3 separate regions of the Homo sapiens genome follow, and all the other regions are linked to region 3. Evidence: promoter capture Hi-C in human tissues and cell types (Jung and others, 2019). All regions are on one chromosome and are shown on one strand. The core of a region is centred on a gene start or on the middle of the fragment in contact, and the rest is flanking DNA. Distances in the headings are between cores, read along the strand shown. Region 1 overlaps SCYL1 (SCY1 like pseudokinase 1). Region 2 overlaps ZNRD2-DT (ZNRD2 divergent transcript). Region 3 holds the start of KAT5 (lysine acetyltransferase 5).

Region 1 (4,285 bases), core at 1,786-4,285, 170 kb after region 3:
AAAAAGTTTATTGAGCACCTACTATTTTCCAGGTTCTGTGCTTTGTACTAGGTAATCAACAATCACCCAGGGCTCCCAGCTAGGGGAGGCCAACATGTAAACTGATTCTGACAGTTCAGGGTCCTGGGTGCCAAGAAAGGTATAGACTAATGATTAATTGCAATGGGGAGGTGAATGTTGAACTGGACTGAAACGTAAGTAGGAGTTCCCTAGGCATGGGAAAGGCAAGGCACGAGAAGTCATTCCAGGACCAAAGAGCAGTAATTGCAAAGCATAGAGATCTGGAAGGAGCTAGTTGTGTTTACAGAGGAGGGGAGGGTGCCCTGAGCACAGAGTTGGGGAGTGGAGGGTGGTCTAGAGTAAGGCGTGATGAGACCTAAAGGTATCGGAAGCTCAATTGCATTTGAGGCCTTTCCATTTGGGCTTCTGATACTTTTAGGTTTTGTAAGGTTAGTGGGAGCCACTGAAGGTGTTATGAAGGACAGCAGCTAATGTCCACATGCACATTCAGACACATGCACAGACACAGCAGACTTCCTGCTGTACATACTTTGAAACCAAAGTGGAAATTCAGGTTCTGAACTTGTGTGAGGCCCTTGAGGTGCAGCCCCAGGGAAAGAGGGGCTGGGTTTCCAGCTGCGCTACTCTTGCCCCGCAGACATAGATGAGTGCAGCCAGGACCCGAGCCTGTGCCTTCCCCATGGGGCCTGCAAGAACCTTCAGGGCTCCTATGTGTGTGTCTGCGATGAGGGCTTCACTCCCACCCAGGACCAGCACGGTTGTGAGGGTGAGTGTCCTCCCAGCTCCTCCCTCGGACTGGACAACTCCCCTGAGCTGCAGCTGGGATTCAGAGATGTGTCCTGGCCCCACCCTCCTAAATTTGGGGAACCGGAAGAAATCTCTTTTGGCTGGGGGAGTCTGGTGGGGCCAGACGATGAAGGGTCCAGAACACCACGTTGAGAACAGAGCCAACTCTCAGGAGGAGGCTAAGGGGAGCCAGGGAATGTGGGGGGAAAGACCTGTGGTGGGTGGGCAGGGTGGACAGGGCCAAGGGGGGTCTGTGCACAACCCTGAGCTGCCGTCTGCCCCTCAGAGGTGGAGCAGCCCCACCACAAGAAGGAGTGCTACCTGAACTTCGATGACACAGTGTTCTGCGACAGCGTATTGGCCACCAACGTGACCCAGCAGGAGTGCTGCTGCTCTCTGGGGGCCGGCTGGGGCGACCACTGCGAAATCTACCCCTGCCCAGTCTACAGCTCAGGTCAGGAGCCGGGCAGGCCCCTTCCCAGATCTTCAGTTTCTTCATCTGGAAGCCAAATGTGGGAAATGGCGCCCCCTGGCAGTTGGGAAATAGGCGGCGGGCTGCAGCCCTAAGCCCACGCGCGCGCTCAGTCCTGCCTCTTCCCTCCCCACGGCCGCCCTGCCCCTGCAGCCGAGTTCCACAGCCTCTGCCCAGACGGAAAGGGCTACACCCAGGACAACAACATCGTCAACTACGGCATCCCAGCCCACCGTGGTAAGCGCCCTGCGGCTCCGCCCGCCCCGCGCCCTCTCACCCCGGGTTGGGCTCGCCCGGATCCCGCCGGGACTCGCTGGGTCAGCTGCCCGCGCCGGGTAAGCCCCGCCCGCACCTTCCTCGCAGGCCCCGCCCTGTAGGCCCCGCCCCTCCTGTAGGCCCCGCCCGGGGATGGCTTCGCTCCGGTGGTGCGCCCAGCCCACGCCTCCGGGCTGCAGCTGCGGGACCGGAGCGGCCAGTGTTTGTCACCCCGCAGACATCGACGAGTGCATGTTGTTCGGGTCGGAGATTTGCAAGGAGGGCAAGTGCGTGAACACGCAGCCTGGCTACGAGTGCTACTGCAAGCAGGGCTTCTACTACGACGGGAACCTGCTGGAATGCGTGGGTGAGCTCCGCCCCCCGGCGGCCGTGGGGAAGCGGCAGGGAGACACGCGCCACCGCGCCCATCCCGGGCCTGCCCCTGCTACCCACGCTTTTCCTCCCTGCAGACGTGGACGAGTGCCTGGACGAGTCCAACTGCCGGAACGGAGTGTGTGAGAACACGCGCGGCGGCTACCGCTGTGCCTGCACGCCCCCTGCCGAGTACAGTCCCGCGCAGCGCCAGTGCCTGAGCCCGGAAGAGATGGGTGAGGCCCGGGCCGGGGAGTGGGGTACGCGGGAGGGGCGGGGCCCGGGCCGAGCTGTGACGGCCCCCACCCACCCCCTCGCTGTTCGTAGACGTGGACGAGTGCCAGGACCCGGCAGCCTGCCGCCCTGGCCGCTGCGTCAACCTGCCGGGCTCCTACCGCTGCGAGTGTCGCCCGCCCTGGGTGCCCGGGCCCTCCGGCCGCGATTGCCAGCTCCCCGAGAGCCCGGCCGGTGAGGGCGAGGGTTGGCCTTGGCCGATCCCGGGGCCCTGTCCGTCACGTGGCCCCCGCGCAGGTGGGGTGGGGCGGAGGCGGGCGGTTCCTGCCTTGGGCCCCTCCCCTGATGCCAGGTGTCTTCCGCAGAGCGTGCCCCGGAGCGGCGCGACGTGTGCTGGAGCCAGCGCGGAGAGGACGGCATGTGCGCTGGCCCCCTGGCCGGGCCTGCCCTCACCTTCGACGACTGCTGCTGCCGCCAGGGCCGCGGCTGGGGCGCCCAATGCCGACCGTGCCCGCCGCGCGGCGCGGGTAAGGCAGTCGGGGAGGAGTTGGCCGGGAGCGAGGATGGGGGCCAGGGCCCGGGGACCCGGACGTCGCTGACCAGTTCTGCTCCTCCCAGGGTCCCATTGCCCGACATCGCAGAGCGAGAGCAATTCCTTCTGGGACACAAGCCCCCTGCTGTTGGGGAAGCCCCCAAGAGGTGAGTGCTGCCGGGTCGGGCGGTGGCGGGGTTGGTAGCCTTTGGCCGGGGCTCAGTGTTGAAGTCCATATTGTTCCGGGCCACGCAGATGAGGACAGTTCAGAGGAGGATTCAGACGAGTGTCGCTGCGTGAGTGGCCGCTGCGTGCCGCGGCCGGGCGGCGCCGTGTGCGAGTGTCCCGGCGGCTTCCAGCTCGACGCCTCCCGCGCCCGCTGCGTGGGTGAGCCGGGCTTCGGGGGTGGGGGCAGGGGCGGGGCCGGTGGTGAGGAGCCGCCTGGAGGCTCAGCGAAGCCGCACCTGTCGCCCTCACCTTCAGATATCGACGAGTGCCGAGAGCTGAACCAGCGCGGGCTGCTGTGCAAGAGCGAGCGCTGCGTGAACACCAGCGGCTCCTTCCGCTGCGTCTGCAAAGCCGGCTTCGCGCGCAGCCGCCCGCACGGGGCCTGCGTTCCCCAGCGCCGCCGCTGACGCCGCCGACGCCGCCCTCGGCCCAGACCTCGGTGATCACTGAGGGATTTCCGCGAGCTCGGCCTCACTTCTGCCCCGACTTGTGGCTCGGACCCAGGGACCTTCAGGGCCCGCAGACCCTCCCGGCGCCTTGAGACCCGAGGCGCCCCTACCGGCCCCCCTCCCCGGTTAGCGGGCGGTTGTAAGGTCTCCGGCGGGCGCTGCCTGCCTTCCTCCCAGAGGGTGTTTCCTAGAAACTGATAAATCAGATCGTGCCTCTTTACCCTTGGCTTTCGAAGCAAATTGATGTTCACGTCTGACGTGGGCGCGGGCTGCGCAGGGCGGCGCCAGACCCCAGCCGCCTCCCAGGGGCTAGACTGAGCCCGGCACAAGGGGTGTGAAATAGAATTTATTGTGGCTCTGATTATGTACACGTGAGATGGCCTGGCTGGGCCGGCCGGGCTCACATGGTTTGTACAATAAATACATCTGTGGGGCGGGCTCTCCGCAGCCGGGAAGGGCCACCGCCACGGTTCAGTCCAGCTTCCGGGCTCCCAGCTTCATGGGGCCCTTGGCCACCTTCCTCTCGGCGCGTTTGGCCTCCATCTCCCGCCGCCGCTCCTCGCGCTTCTTCCGGGCCAGCTCAGCCTTGACCTGTCCTGGCGTCAGGAAGGGGAGCCCCGGTCTCAGCTCTCCAGCCAGTGCCTGCCGGGGGCCTGTAGGGGCGGGCTAGTCGGGGAGCCCTAGTCTTCAGCCCACCCAGGGGAAGCACTTACGACTGTCAGTCTCGAGGCCCTCCCAGTTGTCCTCACCCCAAGAGTCTGGCCTCGGCTGTAAAGAGAAGTGTGGGCTGCAGTGGGGCCCACTTCTGGCTGAGGTCCACCATCTCTACCCTCTCGCCAGACCTGTGCTGGGTACCTGGGTGCTGGGACGTGCAGACAGGGTAGCGAAGGGGTCGCCCTTGTCGCTGGACTCTGGGCCACCCCAGTTATACTCGCT
Region 2 (4,309 bases), core at 854-3,353, 140 kb after region 3:
CCAGGGCAGTGGAAAAGCAGCTAGGACTTGGACTTTCACAGTTACATCGACATTCTCCTCTTCCGGATGGCACATGCCCCCTCAATCTGACCTGAAGTCCCTTCCTCCTGGCCCCCTCTTCCTTCCACGTAGAACCCCTGGAACTGTCATTCTTGCTGCCTCCTGCTTACGTGGAGAGCCCTGTGTCCCTTTCACATCTCCATCTACCAGTCAGGCTCTTGGGCAGCAGCGTACCTGACTTAGGGCCTGTACCACAAGTCGTTTCTATCAGGCTGAATAGAGCCACCGTTTTTTGTGTGTTTGTTTGGTTTGGTTTGTATTTTTTGTAGAGATGGGGTTTCGTCATGTTGCCCAGGCTGGTCTCCAACTCCTGGACTCAAGTGATCCTCACACCTCAGCCTCCCAAAGTGCTGGGATTACAGCGAAGAGCCACAGCACCTAGCCTGAGGCTGACTAGAGGAACTGTCTCTGAACCATCTCTTGGACTCCAGCCTGTATGCACAGACCCCCAGGTTATTACCGTCTCCAGCTCCCAGCCCTACCCTGAATTCCTCAGTGCGCCGACTATGTCACCATCATGGCCAATATCCACTCAACTGTCTATTCTGCCTCGCACCTACAAAGAGCCTTACATGAGTCCTCTCACTTAATCTCTCCAATTTACTCCTCATGACAACCTTACATATCCCCACATAAGCAGGAAACTGAATAATTATTTTAAAATACAGTGTCGTTCTTGTACTAAAAACCATCTGGCTGCCCGATACTGTGGCTCACGCCTGTAACCCCAGCACATTGGGAGGCCGAGGCGGGCAGATGTCTTGAGATCAGGAGTTCAAGACCAGCCTGGCCAACATAGTGAAACCCCTTCTCTACTAAAAATACAAAAATTAGCCAGGTGTGGTGGCGGGCGCCCGTAATCCCAGCTACTCGGGAGGCTGAACCAGGAGAATTGCTTGAACCGGGAGGCAGAAGTTGCAGTGAGCCGAGATCACACCACTGCACTCCAGCCTGGGCAACAGAGTGAGACTCTATCTAAAAAAAAAAAAAGCCATTTGGCATCTCCCATCACACTTAGACAAAAATCCAAAGTCCTTGTTATGGTCTCCAAGGTCCTATAAATCTGGTCCTTGACCCCCCAAATCCAGACAACACATAGAGAGATGCACACACATCTCCCATCCTTCCTGCATCCCTCTTCTCCCACTGCTCAAGAGGACTCTTGTCCCTTTTCTCCTCTCAGGGCCTCTCACCATCTTAAGTTCCACTGTAGGGTGGACAAGACGCAGAACTGGAATGAGGCAGGCCTGGGTTTGATCCTGGATCTATTTACTGTATCACCTGGAGTAGTTTACTTCATCGCTGTGGACTTCAATTTCTCATCTGTAAAACAGGGCCAGTAGACCAGGTGCTGTGGCTCACACCTATAATCTCAGCACTCTGGGAGGACATGCAGGAGGATTGCTTGAGACCAGCCTGGACAGCATAGTAAGAACCCATCTCTAAGAAATATATGTATTTTTTAAATTAGCTGGTGCAGTAGCATGCACTTGTAGTCCCAGCTACTCAGGAGGCTGAGTGGGAGGATTGCTCCCAGCCCAGGAGATCCAGGCTGCAGTGGGCCATGATCAGGCTTCTGCATTGCAACCTGGGTGACAGAGCGAGACCCTGACTCAAAATAAAAATGGGGCCACTTATGCCTATTTGTTGCTTGTTTGTTTTTTGAGATGGAGTCTCTGTCACCCAACCTGGAGTGAAGTGGCGCAATTCTCGGCTCACTGCCACCTCCACCTTCCAGGTTCAAGCAATTCTTGTGCCTCACCCACTGGAGTGGGATTACAGGCATGCGCCACCACAGCTGGCTAATTTTTTTTTTTTTTTTGAGACGGCATCTTGCTCTGTTGCCCAGGCTGGAGTGCAATGGTGCGATCTCGGCTCACTGCAAGCTCTGCCTCCTGGATTCACGCCATTCTCCTGCCTCAGCCTCCCAAGTAGCTGGGACTACAGGCACCTGCCACCACGCCCGATTAATTTTTTTTGCATTTTTAGTAGAGACAGGATTTCACTGTGTTAGCCACGATGGTCTCGATCTCCTGACCTCGTGATCTGCCCGTCTCGGCCTCCCAAAGTGCTGGGATTATAGGCATGAGCCACCGCGCCCAGCCAATTTTTTAAATTTTTATTTCTAGTAGAGACGGTGTTTCACCATGTTGGCCAGACTAGTCTCAAGCTCCCGACTTCAGGTGATCTGCCCACCTCAGCCTCCCAAAGTGGTAGGATTACAGGCCTGAGCCACCGCGCCAGCTTCAAAGATGTTTATCTAGGGAACAGCTATGGAAGATGGAGATAGTGTCTCCCTCCAGAGCAAAGGACAGCCATGCTTACTGGCTTTGAGTTTCCTAAGCTTAGGGTCCTCTCCCACAATGTAATTCGCTCTGTGTGCCCACACTTGCCTGAGCCCATCAGCATCACCCCCATGGGACTTAGGGTCAAAAGGAACTAACGGAAATATGCTGGTGCTCATGCTGTTTGCTGCACAGCGATCAAGTCCTTTGTCTCTGACCCAGGACTCTCCTGTATTCTGCCAGCATTCTTGAACCTGACGGGCTACCTTGGTAGCTTGCAAGTGGGTAAGATCTCAGATGCTTCACAGTCCTTGACATAGAAGGTGCTCACAGGTGTTGGTGGTAAAACCTATTCGCAGCAGTCACAGTGGACAGGCCAGTGTCTGTGGAGCAATGGGCTTGGGCTCTTTCACACCCTTCCCTTGCCGACAATATATCACACCTTCAGCCAGGCATGGTGGCTCACAACTTTAATCCCAGCACTTTGGGAGGTCAAGACTGGCAGATCACTTGAGGTCAGGAGTTCGAGACCAGCCTGGCCAACATAGTGAAACCCCATCTCTACTAAAAATACAAAAACTAGCTGGGCATGGTGGTGCGAGCCTGTAGTTCCAGCTACTCATGAGGCTGAGACGGGAATTGCTTGAACTGGGAGGCGGAGGTTGCAGTGAGTGGAGATCCTGCCACTGCACTCCAGCCTGGGCAACAGAGCATGGAGTCAGGGAAGAGAAAGGAGGGAAAGGAGGAGGGGGAGGGGGAGGGAAGGGAATCACAGTTTCATGTGAGCCAGTCCAAATTGGTCCCTCCTTGTGGCACTGATGACATGGCTGTAGTTAGGCTCTTTTCTGGGTGATAGAGCACCCCACAGCAGCTCAGTCATGCACAGCTCAATTACAGCTCCCCCTGGGCTGGCTGATTTGGTGGGGATGGTTCACATGGCAACAAGTGGCCTATGCCATGTTGCCTGGCCTCTGAAAAACGTAACTTATCATTTGTATTTTCACACAGGCACTGAAAAGGGGTCAGCTATTCTTTTTTTTTTTTTTTTTTTTTTGGTTTTCACTGCAATGTGAATCACCTTGACATTTCTGTGAAACAGGAAGTGGCTGGATGATACAACAATAAAAATAATCACACTCAACTTGGTGTGTGTGTTTTCTTTGGGCCAGGCACTGTGTTAAGAGCTCTTTATGAAGTATTTCGCTTATTCCTTAGGACAACACTGGCAGCTAGGTCTTATCATCATTCCCAATTTGCAAATGAGGAGGCTGAGGCCTGGAGTAGTGAGAGATGTATCCACAGTCACCCAGTTGGGAGTGGCAGGGCTGGGGCTCCCGGCTGGCAGCCAGTGTACCTCTTGAGCCTGAGCTCTTACCAGTAGATTTCTCCCGTGCTCAAAAGGCGGGGAAGAGTGGCAGGGCAGAAGGGCCCCCTGATTTATCAAGCGTGAAGGTAGTTTCATCTCATTTCCAATCCCAACTCTCAGTGTCCATCGTTTTACTACCCACAGTAAGTGGCACATTAGAGGGGTTTAATAGCCACTTTCAGTAAAGTGTCTTTGGAGAGAAATGCTTTAGGGCAACCTTGTCCCCTCCAGGCCTTCATCACTTCCATCCCTCATCTTTAAAGCTGATGAGCAAGGCCGGGCGCAGTGGTTCATGCCTGTAATCCCACACTTTGGGAGGCCGAGGCGGGCAGATCACCTGAGGCCAGGAGTTCGAGATCAGCCTGACCAACATGGTGAAACCTCATCTCTACTAAAAATACAAAAATCAGTTGGGAGTGGTGGTGGTGGCTGCCTGTAATCCCAGCTACTCAGGAAGCCGTGACACAAGAATCGATTGAACCCAGGAAGTGGAGGCTGCAGTGAGCTGAGATTGTGCCACTGCACTCCAGCCTGGCAACAGAGTGAGACTCTGTCTCAAAAAAAAAATAAAACTGATGAGTGTGACCCCCTTCCCTTC
Region 3 (4,243 bases), core at 1,543-4,042:
ACCTGCCAGACAGCAGGAACTCAATAAAAATGGGCTGGACTGATCTGCTGGCTTGACTGGTCAGTGTTTACCTGAGCAAGAAGAAGCTGTCATTTGATTCACCCCAGCGCCTCACTGCCTCTCAAGCACTAACCTTGTTCTTACGTCCATCAATCTCAAAGAAGGAGATGGTGCCCTTGCGGTAAATCTCATTGCCTGGAGGATGTCGTAGGTCACACTTGGTCTGGGGAAGAGAGGAGGATCAGGAACAAGGGCAACGTGGAGGGTGCTGGGAAGGCAGCCTCCCTGGACCCCTCATACCAAATGACGCTGAAGACACTTGAGACTACGGCCGTACTTGAGGCAGAACTCGCACAGGTAGAGGACAGGCAATGTGGTGAGTTCCTGTGGGTACGGGGAGAAGTACCACGGCTTGAGGCGGTGCCGGCCCAGCTCAATGCACTCAATGTTCTTCATCCGGGTGACGATGTCGTCGTGGCTTCGATCAGACACCAGGCTGCCAGTCATGCGTGGTGCTGACGGTATTCCATCAGAGCTGTCCTGGGAGTCCTGCCCAGGGCCAGTGGAAAATACCAGGTTGTAAGAGACAGCTCAGCAGGACACCACAGCTCACAGCCCTTTGACAGGTTTCCTTCAAGCCTAACAGCAACCCTAAGGGGGAGGTACCATGATCCCCAATTTCCAGATAAAAAACCTGAAACCCTAAAGGATCGATGATGTGGAAAAGATCACCCAATGACCCCATTTTTTAGATGGAGTCTCAGTCTGTCGCCCAGGCTGGAGGGCAGTAGCGCGATCTTGGCTCACTGCAATCTCCACCTCCGGGGTTCAAGCAGTTCTCCTGCCTCAGCTTTCCGAGCTGGATTACAGGCACCCGCCACCACGCCTGGCTAATTTTTGTATTTCTAGTAGAAACAAGGTTTCACCATGTTGGCCAGGCTGGTCTCAAACTCCTGACCTCAGGTGATCCACCAGCCTTGGTTGGACTCCCAAAGTGCTGGGATTACAGGTATGAGCCATGGTGCCCGGCCCCAATGACTCATTTGAACAATGTTCTGCCTGTCTCCTAATCCCACCAACACTAGCTCTGCCCACCACCCCTTCTTTATTTTTAAACTCATCACTAAATAACTCTCCACCCTGCCTGCATCCCTTCCTTTTCACCCAGTTCCCTTCTGCTGCTCCCCAGACCCACCTCATCAGTGCCCAAACAATTCGATTTTCGCTTCCGTCCTGGCTGGGCTGCCACTGCCCTACGGGCGGCTCCATTCTGCCGAGATAGTAGGAAAAGAAGGGATGGCTGTGAAATGAGCCTGAAAAAAGCCACCAGAGAGTAGAAGAGAGGAAGAGAACAAGAGATGGTTTGGGGAACTCACCTGGGGAAAAACCGAGGCCGGGGCTGTCTCGCTGGGCACTGGAGTTGCTGGTGAAACCACCTCCACCTTCCGTTTCTGCAGAGAGAAACCAACAAAGGTGGGTCAGAAGGTAGAGAAGGTGGGACCTGAGAAGAAAGCAAGGTCCCTGGAATTGCTGAGGGTACCGTTGAGCGGTGGTTGGGCTGCAGGCAGGAGCTGGAGGAGAGCGGCTGGTCAGGCTCGCCACCGGGAATGGCCTCCCGCTCCTTGGGCAGGTTGAAGCGGAGTGTGATCTGGACCGGGATTGGCAAGGTCTTCCCGCTGGCCTGCGCCGAGGCCGGCTGTAGAGATAGGTCCAGGGTCTTCCTTTGGGGCGGGGATGGCAGTGGGATGGGGAAGGGGAAGAGGGGTCCCTCACCTCAAAATTATCAAACCCCACCCTCGCCTTCTGAAGGACACAGGACTAGCTACTGGACTCTGGGAGCTACATGTGCAATTTGGCCCCCATCCTTTGCAAGATGAAGTCAGGGTGAGAGGGAGCCGCCTCCTGCCCATCCAGGAGCTCCTAATGCCAACAGACAAGAGAAATAGGAGGCAGGAGAGAAAAGGTGAAGTGGGGGACCTACTCACCACCTCTCTCTCTGGAGAGCCAGGACGGGACCCAGGAAGTCCGTTCTTAGTGGGGGTCTTGGCCTCTTTCTTGGGGAACTGGATCTTCTTTAGGTCCAGCCGCTCATGCGTCACCCATTCATCCAGACGTTTGTTGACTGTAGCAGTGGGGATGGCTCAGGACAGAATGCCAAAGACTGTCCCCCAACCCTACCCTGATGCCCCACCTCAGGCCCAGAACTCACAGTCAATGTAATGGACGTAGAAAAGCTTCCGGCCACTGATGTCCTTCACGCTCAGGATCTCGGCCAGGGCTATGAGAATAGCATAGACAGGGGCCTTAGACAGGCCAGGCTATGAGACTCCACCCTTCCACGACCTGAACTCCACCCCCAGGCCGGATCCCTAAGCTCCAGCACTTAGGTCTCTCCTAAGCCTCCTTCAGTCACAAGTGCCACCCCTTTCCAGGCCCCGCCCTGTACCTCTCGGAGCAGCTAAGAGCCACGCCCCTTCATCAAAGTATCTGCGCCTCGCCCGCCCCATAATTCCAGACGCCCCTCCCCATCCCGGGATTTCAGTTGACTCCCGCCCCTCGCCCTCAGGTTCCTTAGTCCCGCCCCCCAACGTCACTCACGCCACTCATCTTCGTTGTCCTGGTTCCGCCGCAGCACGGGTAGGCGGCAGCCCTCGATTATCTCCCCCTGGGGAGACAGCGCGACGCCAGGGTCGGCTACTGGGGGGCCTCGGGCTCTACCCACCTCCCCTGGCTCCCTCCGCCCCGCCCCGGGCACCGGACTCACCACCTCCGCCATCTTCCCTCCCTCCACTGCCACTTCCGGCCCCTCTGGGAGACGTCACTTCCGGGACCGAGCGCCCTGTGGGCCCGGGCCTCACGAAGCCCCTGTAGAGGGGGACCTTTGAGAGACACCGCGACCCAGCTGCGAGGGGCAAGACTGCCCCTGTGACTCGGGGGAAAACGGAGTGTTACAAGCCTCAGGCCGAGCCCTAGGTGGAAACCCCATAACGTGCACAGCCAGTGGCGGTCTACTGAGTCCGTCACGTGACGCCCACCGGGTGCGAAGCTGGTCACGTGTATGCGGAGCGGGTCACGTGGCAATACCGTTTTTGGCTTTGTCGGAGGGAAGTCCTCGGGCGTCTCCTTGTGGCGGCGGGAGGTGTTGCCGGGAGTCAACTGGGCGCGAGAGGCTGGAGAAAGGAAGTGGCCTTAGAAGGGTTCGAACGCTCCCCCAAGTCTGTGGACTTCATTCCGTAGGCAAGAGGACTCAGGGAAGATTCCTAGCTTTATTTTGTATATTAGGCTTTTTTAATTTGTATATATTTATTTTTGAGACGGAGTCTCGCTCTGTCGCCAGGCTGGAGTGCAGTGGCGCGATCTCAGCTCCCTGTAACCCCCGCCTCCCGGGTTCAAGCGATTCTCCTGCCTCAGCCTCCCGAGTACCCAACTAATTTTTGTATTTTTAGTACGGGCGGGGTTTCACCATGTTGGCCAGGATGGTCTAGAGCTCTTGACCTCGTGATCCGCCCGCCTCGGCCTCACAAAGTACTGGGATTACAGGCGTGAGCCACCGCCCTCAGCCATATTAGGCTTTTTTTTTTTTTTTTTTTTTTTTTGAGACAAGGTCTGGCTCTCTCGCCCGGGCTGGAGTGCAGCCAGCGAGGCACAATCTCCGCTCACTGCAGCCTCCCCCTCCCGGGATCAAGTGATCCACCTCAGGCTCTCTAGTAGCTGGGACTACAGGCGCGCACCACCAAGCCTGGCTAGTTTTTTAAAATTTTTGTGTAAACAGGGTTTGGAGACTGGGCATGGTGGCTCACACCTGTAATCCCAGCTGCCTCCAGTCTAATCATGAGAAAAACATCAGACAAATCCCAATTGAGAAACATTTTACAAAATACCCCATGAATACTCCTCAAAACTGTGAAGGTGTCACCGGTGGAGGGTGTACAGGTTCTTGGCATCTAAAATAATGGGACAAAACGGCTGGGCGCGGTGGCTCACGCCTATAATCCCAGCACTTTGGGAGGCCGAGGCGGGCGGATCACGAGGTCAGGAGATTGAGACCATCCTGGCCAACACGGTGAAACCCTGTCTCTACTAAAAATAAATACAAAAAATTAGCTGGGCGTGGTGGCAGGCGCCTGTAGTCCCAGCTACTCGGGAGGCAGAGGCAGGAGAGTGGCGTGAACCCGGGAGGCAGAGCTTGCAGTGAGCCGAGATTGCGCCACTGCACTCCAGACAGAGCAAGACTCTGTCTCAA

The links. Contacts are between HindIII fragments. The study calls those that stand out against the background at their distance.
Region 1: a fragment that was not itself captured here is called in contact with the fragment with the promoter of KAT5 in region 3 in 1 of the 25 tissues and cell types used here (dorsolateral prefrontal cortex).
Region 2: a contact is called between a fragment that was not itself captured here and the fragment with the promoter of KAT5 in region 3, in 1 of the 25 tissues and cell types used here (spleen).

The regions. Positions count from the first base shown.
Region 1 is chr11:65,538,102-65,542,386 of GRCh38, reverse strand. SCYL1 (SCY1 like pseudokinase 1) reads right to left here. Exons shown (of 18, transcript NM_020680.4): 16 at 4,205-4,285; 17 at 4,063-4,117; 18 at 3,683-3,945. The coding sequence ends at 3,821. LTBP3 (latent transforming growth factor beta binding protein 3) reads left to right here. Exons shown (of 28, transcript NM_001130144.3): 19 at 659-787; 20 at 1,094-1,261; 21 at 1,433-1,516; 22 at 1,773-1,901; 23 at 2,005-2,142; 24 at 2,234-2,374; 25 at 2,506-2,667; 26 at 2,759-2,839; 27 at 2,928-3,059; 28 at 3,156-3,828. The coding sequence ends at 3,307. Among named protein-coding and RNA genes, the nearest start is that of SCYL1, 15 kb to the right of the region's middle. RefSeq lists enhancers at 1,209-1,258, 1,475-1,769, 3,375-3,878, 3,879-4,285 and silencers at 1,509-2,268, 2,319-2,518. The HindIII fragment of the contact is 9,195 bases long and covers 1-4,285 here.
Region 2 is chr11:65,565,210-65,569,518 of GRCh38, reverse strand. ZNRD2-DT (ZNRD2 divergent transcript) reads left to right here. Exons shown (of 1, transcript NR_038923.1): 1 at 1-299. Among named protein-coding and RNA genes, the nearest start is that of ZNRD2-DT, 3.0 kb to the left of the region's middle. The HindIII fragment of the contact is 2,559 bases long and covers 824-3,382 here.
Region 3 is chr11:65,710,801-65,715,043 of GRCh38, reverse strand. KAT5 (lysine acetyltransferase 5) reads right to left here and starts at 2,792. Exons shown (of 13, transcript NM_182710.3): 1 at 2,599-2,792; 2 at 2,210-2,278; 3 at 1,986-2,122; 4 at 1,541-1,696; 5 at 1,377-1,451; 6 at 1,196-1,270; 7 at 301-549; 8 at 134-223. The coding sequence starts at 2,776. RefSeq lists silencers at 2,467-2,546, 2,557-2,746 and enhancers at 2,777-3,086, 3,117-3,236. The HindIII fragment of the contact is 8,771 bases long and covers 1-4,243 here.